Linked DNA regions of Homo sapiens: regions 1 and 3 are each linked to region 2. Evidence: promoter capture Hi-C in human tissues and cell types (Jung and others, 2019). All regions are on one chromosome and are shown on one strand. Each heading gives the region's core, a stretch centred on a gene start or on the middle of the fragment in contact. The rest is flanking DNA. Distances are from core to core; before and after follow the strand shown.

The links. Contacts are between HindIII fragments. The study calls those that stand out against the background at their distance.
Region 1: a fragment that was not itself captured here is called in contact with the fragment with the promoter of IGFBPL1 in region 2 in 1 of the 25 tissues and cell types used here (dorsolateral prefrontal cortex).
Region 3: a contact is called between a fragment that was not itself captured here and the fragment with the promoter of IGFBPL1 in region 2, in 1 of the 25 tissues and cell types used here (mesendoderm cells).

Annotation. Positions count from the first base shown.
Region 1 is chr9:38,733,056-38,736,016 of GRCh38, reverse strand. No RefSeq gene overlaps it. Among named protein-coding and RNA genes, the nearest start is that of FAM240B, 14 kb to the right of the region's middle. RefSeq lists an enhancer at 2,502-2,961. The HindIII fragment of the contact is 3,561 bases long and covers 1-2,961 here.
Region 2 is chr9:38,422,502-38,425,734 of GRCh38, reverse strand. IGFBPL1 (insulin like growth factor binding protein like 1) reads left to right here and starts at 1,281. Exons shown (of 5, transcript NM_001007563.3): 1 at 1,281-1,770. The coding sequence starts at 1,311. It overlaps LOC105376041 (a long non-coding RNA gene), which reads right to left and starts at 1,124. Exons shown (of 8, transcript XR_007061487.1): 1 at 985-1,124. RefSeq lists an enhancer at 1-236. The HindIII fragment of the contact is 5,843 bases long and covers 1-3,233 here.
Region 3 is chr9:38,713,841-38,717,193 of GRCh38, reverse strand. All of the region lies in intron 1 of FAM240B (family with sequence similarity 240 member B), which reads left to right. Among named protein-coding and RNA genes, the nearest start is that of FAM240B, 4.6 kb to the left of the region's middle. The HindIII fragment of the contact is 5,800 bases long and covers 1-3,353 here.

The sequences.
Region 1 (2,961 bases), core at 310-2,809, 310 kb before region 2:
GAAAAAGAGGAGTTTTTATTTCATGGGAGAAACATTTGTTCCCAAATGGGTTTTTTTTCCTGTGGGCCAGGCTAATATTGTGATTAAATTGTAATTTTCTTAAAAAACAGGCAAAACGGCCGGGCGCAGTGGCTCCCGCCTGTAATCCCAGCACTTTGGGAGGCTGAGGCGGGTGGATCACGAGGTCAGGAGATCGATACCATCCTGACTAACAAGGTGAAACCCCGTCTCTACTAAAAATACAAAAATTAGCCGGGCGTCGTGGCGGGCGCCTGTAGTCCCAGCTACTCGGGAGGCTGAGGCCGGAGAATGGCGTGAACCCGGGAGGTAGGGCGTGCAGTGAGCTGAGATCGCGCCACTGCACTCCAGCCTGGGTGACAGAGCAAGACTCCATATCAGGAAAACAAAAAACAAAACAAAACAAAAACAGGCAAAACAATCATAATAGCAGATTCCTGTTTGGTTGTAATACACTTTCAAATAAGAGATACTTTCTTGGCATCTGTTACATGTCACAGCCCCTGGCAATGCTATTTTTCCAATGAAACTAGCCCTTTAAAACATTTGCATTAGGCTGGGCACGGTTGCTCACGCCTGTAATCCCAGCACTTTGGGAGGCTGAGGAGGGCAGATCACAATATCAAAAGATTGAGACCATCTTGGCCAACATGGTGAAACCCCCTCTCTACTAAAAATATAAAAAATTAGCTGGGCGTGGTGGTGGGTGCCTGTAGGCCCAGCTACTTGGGAGGCTGAGGCAGGAGAATCGCTGGAACCCGGGAGGAGGCAGAGGCTGCAGTGAGCCGAGATCGCGCCACTGCACTACAGCCTGACAGAGCGAGACTCTGTCTCAAAAAAATAAAACAAAAAAACACTTGCATTAAACATTTTGTTAAACCATGATTTTTGGAGTTGAAATCACACAGAAGGAAGAAAAGAAGGAAGGGAGGGAGAGGAAGGAAGGAAGGAGGAAGGGAGGGAGGAAGGGAGGTCTCTGACTATAAGCTTTAAAATTCTTCCTACAGGGTTTATTAAGGCTTACATTGTGACCAGCCAGTTTCCCTGGTAGTTTATCTTTTAAGCTCTAAATAAACAAATGAGATTTAACTGAGCATCACTATTAACACTATCAGGCTCCAAGACCATAAGATTGTAGCCTCTAAGATCTCGTGGCAATTTAGAGATGATGGCCAGGAGGCAGCCAGGAGCTGGGCACGGCTATTCTTGGTCACAGCATCACTGACTGGGTCCTCGAAGATGCCAGCAGGAGCGGGCCCTGTGTCCTTGGGCAGTTTCTAGTCTGCCCAGCCCACATCACCAGCCAGGACCATGAGCAACGTATGTCCGGGAGATGAGAGAGGGAGGTCGTGAGCCTTTCTGGAGTAGGACACAGAGATGTGTTGGTCCCAGAACTAATGTCTGTGTCCTCAGGAGCTGTGGGGTCTGTGTGCATGGAGGCTGAAGCCACAGGGATGGTGACTCTAGAGGTGTGTGTAGTTCCCTGCACCATTTCCAGGCTGGCTGCATAGCACCTGTGCTCCAAGGAACTCCCTGGGATTGTCTATCATTATCTGACAAACTCATGCCATGGCCATTATTTTATTATTTGCCCATTCAACCAACATATACAGAGCACCTGCTAAGTAGTCAATAAAACAAAGTCCTTACCCATGTGGAGCCTTCACTAGTGAATGCATTCATTTTATTTTTGAAGTCATTACCATCATGATTATTACTGACACTCCCTAACCTGAGGATGCTGGTGTAAATTCTACACCTGAGTGAGGCGCTTGTGTGTCACTCACTGTGAAGTCAGAGGACCAGGAGCTCACGCACCCCTCCTAAGCAGGGCCAAGCCTCCACAGACAGCGGCTGTTGCCTCCATACCCACGTTACTTCCCGTTTCCCGTCTGTAAACCAGAGAGAAGGTGCTGGTCAGGGAGGCGCACAAGTTTCCCTCTGGTTTGGGGGGTAGAGTTTTCCGACAGGGCTGTAGTGAGAGAGAAGCTCGGGCTACACATCCAGCTTCTGTGGTCCAGCGTACTCCAGGGCAGGATGACCGCAGAGGATCATTTGGTACTGTCTTCCGTGAAGCTAGGGGAAATGTGTCACACTTCAGGCACAAACCCCAAATGTGAAGAGCCAGCGTAGAATTCATGAGGATTCAAAACACGAGGATCAGCCTTGGCCAATACACCCGTGATAGAAGTTCATTAATTCCTCCCCTTTGTGAGGCAGCCCTGGAGAAGGCAGACCCCTCACAGTGCTGAGTAAGCCAGCCAGAGAGGAGTACAGATTCACAGCATCAGAAGCAAGGTTGGGACTTCCCTATTCCGGCTTTGGTAAGAGCTGAGAACCAACAGGTGGCCCCCCCTGGCTGAGATGAGGCCTTTCTGCCAGGCGGCTGGTCAGCAGGACCACTCCTGCCCACCGCCCTTTCATCTTGGGTAGGACCAGCAGTGCTGGCCCTTGGGAGAGAAGGCGGGACCTTTAAATAGAGCATGTTGCAAAATACTCCGTCCCCTGCTCCTATAGACATTACCCAAAGCTTCTCCTACTGGGGTGGTCCATGGGGTTGCAGCCTGCTGAACCTGTGATTCACTAGCTCCTGAGGCTGTACTGCCCTCAAATACAGCAAAGTCGGAGCACAACAAAGCTCCGCACAGCGGAGAAGGCATTCTCTGTAGCCCGTTATTCCCCCACAGCAAGCAGCAGCCCGAGTTCAGGCATAGGAGAGATCGCGCTTTTGCACTAAGAAATGTGTGAACAAACCCCAAGGCTTCCAGCCCTCAGCAAGATCCAGGACTGGGATTGATGGGCCCCAAAAGACCTGAAATCAGCAACCCTGCTAACAGCTGCTCCAGACCCCAGGGCGGCCGGGACCACTCTCTAAGCAATCTGCCTCTGCTCCGCTGGCTGGGTGCAGAGGGTATAAATCAGCACAATCTTTCACAAGCAGTT
Region 2 (3,233 bases), core at 32-2,531:
CAGGCTGCAAGAGGCTTTCTCCATCTCCAGGAGTTCAGCAAAGAAAAAACAATAGAGCACAAGACACATGAGGGGTGGCCAGTAAAGGCAGGAAAAGTCTCCTATAAAACCTGCTCAGCGAGTCCCTCCCTCCATCCAGTGCATTTACCCAGCAACACATCAAATCCCAGCAGCCAAGACTCTCTTAGGTTTCTCGTCTGGGTGCCCTGCCAGAACTCAGGCAGGATGGTGTGCACAGAGCCTGGCCCAGAGAAGGCGCAACGGCGGCATGAATAACTGACTACAAGAAACTGCATCTTTCCAACATGCATTCCCCAGTAAGCCACAGGTACACTGACCCTTGTGCACCAAGACTTCATCAAAGCATTATTCGTATTAACCAAAGGATGGAAAATAAGTGGTTAAATAACTGCAACTAAACCCTGTGGAAAGGCCACTCTGTATGAACTCCAAAATATATCACCATATCTCATCACAACAAAGTCACTGTGGACGGAGATGTACCATGACTTTATGCAGCATTAAGAAACACACTCACAGAGCCAATGAACTATGCTCCCATTGATTGTATAAGAAACCCAGTTTCACAGATGACAAGAGGTGGGGAAACTGTGAAACACTGTAAGTGCAAAAACCAAGTGCAGACTAATGTGTATGGCACGCTACTCTGTGTGTGTGAGAGAGAAACAGAGTGTGTGTGTTTTAAAGGAAGGGGCTTTTTTAGGCACATGTACTTTTATAGGCATAGAGAAAATTTCTGAAAAGATATACAAAAACCCGATAGCAAGAGTGGCCTCTGGAAGCCGAGTTGGAGGATGGGGATACAAGGTGGTAGGGTAACCCTCTTTTCATCCTTAGATGTATATGTAAAATCTACATTTTAAACCATATATTCTCTTTATAAAATAAAACTTTGAAAACTACTGAATGCAAAATAAAATTAAATAAAATAGCGCATCCTTCTGGGAGGATTTACGGGCATACTATCTGGAGCCAGCCTTGGATCCGGAGACCGTACGGTTATCCAATCCTGACTCTGCCATAGCGACCTCGGGCAAGTTGTCGCCCCGACTGGGTCTCGGTTCCCTCAAGAGTCCAATCGGAGGTCGGAGAGCTGCTCTCGGGGCGACCCTCCAGCTCGGAGACCCGGGCCGCGGGCACCGCGCGGGTCCCGGGCTGGAGCAGCGGTCTGCGGGCGCCCCGCGGTGCAGGCCCGGCCAATCAGCGGCCGCGGGGCGGGAGCGGTGACTGCTCGGCGGGCGCGGAGCGGAGCGCGAAGCAGAGGCGCCGCCGCTGTCCCGGAGCAAGCCATGCCGCGCTTGTCTCTGCTCTTGCCGCTGCTGCTTCTGCTGCTGCTGCCGCTGCTGCCGCCGCTGTCCCCGAGCCTTGGGATCCGCGACGTGGGCGGCCGGCGCCCCAAGTGTGGTCCGTGCCGGCCAGAGGGCTGCCCGGCGCCTGCGCCCTGCCCGGCGCCCGGGATCTCGGCGCTCGACGAGTGCGGCTGCTGCGCCCGCTGCCTGGGAGCCGAGGGCGCGAGCTGCGGGGGCCGCGCCGGCGGGCGCTGTGGCCCCGGCCTGGTATGCGCGAGCCAGGCCGCTGGGGCAGCGCCCGAGGGCACCGGGCTCTGCGTGTGCGCGCAGCGCGGCACCGTCTGCGGCTCCGACGGTCGCTCGTACCCCAGCGTCTGCGCGCTGCGCCTGCGCGCTCGGCACACGCCCCGCGCGCACCCCGGTCACCTGCACAAGGCGCGCGACGGCCCTTGCGAGTTCGGTGAGTCAGGGTCGGGGATTGGGTGGGTAGAGAAGGAGGGATTCCAACCCTCTGGGGTGTGGAGCGAAGGATCCCCCTGCCCAGTGGTGGACGGCGCTGCCTGGCACTCAGTTTCCCCTTAGGGAGCAGTATTTCATATCTCTCCTCGTGCTCAGAGAGACTGGGGCGAGAATCCTTGGAGACGCCACTCACTGTGCTAGTCGAATTTTTGGTGAGCCTGCTACCCCTTTTGGTACTTAAGTACCTGCTGATGCAGTCACTTATTTGTAGGCATGGTATGTTTGCCCAGCAGGAGACTGGGAGTTAAGGAGGGGGATCCGAGTTCCCAGGTATCCAGCGCTAGGTGGATTGTTTGAATGGGGAGGAAGGGAAGTTGAGGTTGGGGGAGGAAGGGAAGTAGAGGATAGGGGAGGAAGGGAAGTTGAGGATGCAGGAGGAGGATGAGTTCCAGACTGGGGAATCAGTAGTCACCAGGCCACAGCACCAGAGCACCAGGGCCCCCGGTGTGGGAAGGGGCTGAGCTGGGATGCTGAGGGAGCTCCATCCAGGAGAAGTAAGACCTTTGGAGACGTAAGGTCTGAAAAGATTGTGGTGCTATTAGGGGCAGACTCAGGTTTCGTGCTTCTAAAACATATATAATTTGGAGAGTCCTGCCTTAAGTAAAGGAATAGAACTGCTAGGGACTTAGAAACTTATTATGAAATGCTAGGGACTTAGAAACTTAAGCTTCATTAACATCACAGTAAAATAATCTCTGAGTGCTATAGTTGCCCACCCTCTTTATGTACCTTTTGAAAACCAAACAAAAAGAAACCAAAACGTTAGCACTGCTTTACCGGCTTCCTAAGCATGAGTGTATTCCACCCACTAGGTTTTGAAGTGCCGCTGTGTACTTTGCCTGGAGTGGGCAGTGCTGAGTTTAGGGTGAGTGAGAAGGTGGCCAGTGAGTCCCAAGGAGCCTGGGTTTCGGCCTGGAGTTCAGGCTTCTGGGAAATAATTCTGGCCTGAGCCCAGAGACCAAGTCCAGACTTTAGTGCCTAAGTCAGTGTAATGACTTAGCTTCAAGAAAGAAGCCTGGGGTGGGGTGAGACCTTTCCAAGCCTTAAGAAGTATCTAGTAGTCTTTCCTCTCAAGTAGTTCAGGTAGATGTACCCAAGTCCAGGAGACGCAATGGGTTGTTGGAGATGGGGCAGGAAGCCTCCAGTCCTGGGAAATGTAAAACCAGTGTGTGGCCAGTTGAGCACAGGAAAGTCACCATTGGCTGTTCCTAGCTGAAGCTCCCCATGGAGGACAGAGCTGGCTGGGGGTGCATCTGTGCTGCCGCTGGCTCCCTGAGTGGCCCTGGACGGGTCCCTTCCCCTCTCTGGCCATATCAGCCCCAGTGGAGTCATTGTTGAGGTCCCTTTCACTCGGAACAGTTGGTTTCCGCCCTGTGGCACTTAAACAGTCCTGTCTCTTTCCTT
Region 3 (3,353 bases), core at 797-3,296, 290 kb before region 2:
GAAAAGGGAAACAAAGGGAGAAGCAGCCTAAGAGAGGGAAGCCGAAGCCCCTAGGAGCCCCCTGCTCTTTGCTTCCCTGGGCGCTTCCCTCCACACCTTCCCGAGGGTGCCGAGTGTGCCGTTCTTCCAGATGCCTAACTGCGTCCTCCGGGGGCTGTTCCATTTAGACCTGGCTGCCTCTCTGGGGTGCCTCAAATTTCTGAGGAGTTACACTTGATTGATGGAAAGCACACAGTGTGGGGCAGGAATGTGGGACATCCACCCCACAATTCTATTCTCACTCAACAGGATGACAGAGATCACTCATGAGCCTTCGTTCCAGGTAGTCCATTTCTAAAAGTAAACAATGTTTCTGAAAACGCAGCTATTTTGGGAAGTCAGTTCCTGGCTAGAGCGCACTCTTAAGAAATATACATAGCCCGTTTCCGGTTCAGGAAAAAAGTAACATTCATTAGTGAAGGCCAAATAGCCACTGGACTGGCAGTTTGGTGAAGCAGAGGGGAGAAACAATATGTTAGCCAATTTTTGTATTTTAGCCACCTTGCCTTTTTAAAAGCTTTTAATAGGAGCAGAATATAACATTTTCTAGAGAAGTAATTGCTTTTAGCTCTAAATTCTTTGGAGAATTTTGACTGGCAAGTGGCATGAGGGGATGACAGGTTCTTTGTCCACTGAGCACACTGTGTGAAGGGGACCATTTTTTAAAAAAATTATTTTATTTAAGAGCGGAGTCTCACTCTGCCACCCAAGCTAGAGTGCTGTGGCACGATTTCAGCCCACTGCAAGCTCCGCCTCCCCAGTTCAAGCGATTCTCCTGCCTCAGCCTCCCGAGTAGCTGGGATTACAGGCATGGGGCACCATGCCTGGCTAATTTTTGTATTTTTAGTAGAGATGGGATTTCACTGTGTTGGCCAGGCTGGTCTCGAACTCCTGATCTCAGGTGATCCACCTGCTTCAGCCTCCCAAAGTGCTGAGATTACTGGCTTGAGCCACCGCACCGGGCCAAGGGCACCATATTAAGTAAGGTCCTTGCCCCACAGTAGTTAAGGGTCTAGTTGAAGGGACAAGATTATGGGGTCAAAGCCCAAGAGAAAAGAGACCTGCCTCGGCTCCTGGTCCCAATCCAAACAGGCATAGAGGCAAACCCAGGAGCATCTCTGTGCATGGCAGAATGAGCTTAAGGACCTCCCAGTTCCCTTCTAGTCACAATTAAGTGACTAGACATCAAATTGAACAGCCTGGTTGTGACCAATAAAACTGCAGTGGTTAACAGTAACCGGGGAGGGGTGGTGCTTTCTCTAATTGCTTTCACTTTGTTTTATTTCGACTCTATGTGCACCCAGTGTATGTTTCTCCAGGAAGCTAAGGCATAGTTAGCTACATGGTCCATGGGGAACTCAGAAGTTTTCTCTATTAATCCATATGGACCTCAAAAACTAGTGACCCAAAGGCCAAGTCCAGCCAACAGACATATTCTGATGCTCTGCACAGAGCTTTGAAATGTCTGTAAATTATCATCAACATTTAAAAATAAAGAAATTACATAATGTTTTAAAAATCAGATTTCCAGCTTCTTTTGAAAAACTTGAATATCAGGTAACTCTGGGACCATGCCCCATGGGCAATAGTTGCTTGGAGTTGAGTGGCAGTGTCTGTTTGAAACAAGCCATGCATTCAAGAATTTGCCACAGAGCCTTCTAAACACACCAGGACTCCACAGGCTTCCGAGCTTGTGGCCTCTGACCTATCAGTAATCTACATAAGGATATAAATTAGGCAGTCCAGGATTTTATTAAGCACTTATTGTGTCAGGCAAAACATTTTTCACAGCAGCCTTTTCCACTGAAAACTGGTTAATTGGGAAAGTACATGTTGTTCCATTTTACAGATGAGAAAACAGAAACTTAGTTCAAGTAACTTGCCCTGTAAAGAGTGTGGGGGGGTCTCCTAACTCCTAGTCCTGGACACATGACACAGGGCTAAACAGCAGGACGCTGCTGGCTCCAGGACGGAATATCTCTTTGTGCACTGAAAATGTTCCTCAGGCAAACAATGCTCCTTAATTCCTGTCTGCTGATGGTGTCAGGAAGATGCATGTGCTTTTTACTTTTTATTTCAAAATAATTCTAGATTTAGAGAAAGTTACAAAGATAGTACAGAGTGTTCCCATATACCTGTCACCTAGCTTTCTCTAATATTAACATCTTACGTAGCCATGGTACATTTATCAAAACAATAAAATTAGCATTGGTACAATAAAATTTACTGCAGAATTTATCAGATTCAGTCTTCCACTACTTATTGTCTGTTTTTCCTGTTCCAGGATTCAATCCAGGATGCCACGTTGCATTTATTGGTGTATATATCTATCAATCATATCTCCTTATTCTCCTCCAATCTGTGACCGTTTCTCAGTCTTTATCTTTCATGACCTTGACACTTCTAAATGAACAGTGTTCACATATTTTGTAAAATATTCCAGAATTTGAGCTAGTCTTCAGTTTTCTCATGAATAGACAGCATTCTGGTGTTGGGAGAAGTGCATCATAGAGTCAGCGTGTCACATCATGTCACATCAAGGGACACATGATATCCACAATACTTATTAGTAGCGCTGAGAGCCTTAACCACACTTATTTAAGGGGGTATTTGTTTCTCCACTGTAAAGTGACTACTTTCCCCTCGGTCACCAAGTCATCCCAGACTGAAGGGGAGGGGGACTTAACTCCACCTTCTAGAGAGAGGGGAGTATCAGACAATTTGTGATCGTATGTTAAAACCACCACAGTAATTATTAAATTTTTAGAGACATATCTTTGATGTCATGCAAGCATTGTGTTCCTCCTTAAAATGTCATCCACTCATTTTTACCACTGATCAATGGATTCTGCCTGCAATAATTATTACTGTGGTGTTCTCATGGTGATTTTCTCTTTTCCTCATTCTTTCTACACTTATTCACTGGAATTCTTCTGAAAGTAATAGTTGTTTTTTCTCCTCCATTTGTTTATTTCAATAATTTCTATCAATTTGAATTCATTCTTTGGGTTGTAACTAACATCATGTTGTTTATTTTGTTGTGCATATTGTTCCCTCTTTGGATATTGAGAACTCTCCAGTTGACTAATTCTGCAATGCCCTTCACCTATTTTTTTAAGCCTCTGTTACTTTGTGACACTACAAAATGTGTTCAGGGTTTATTTACAGAGATTGGGGCTCTGCATAAGAAGTTGTGAGGGGGAGGGCAATAAATGGAAGAGAAACAAAGTAAATAGCAATTTTTCTCTTGAAAGGAGATAAAAGTAGTGCTTACTTTTTAACATTCATTTGGCAGTAATTTCAAAATTACAGAA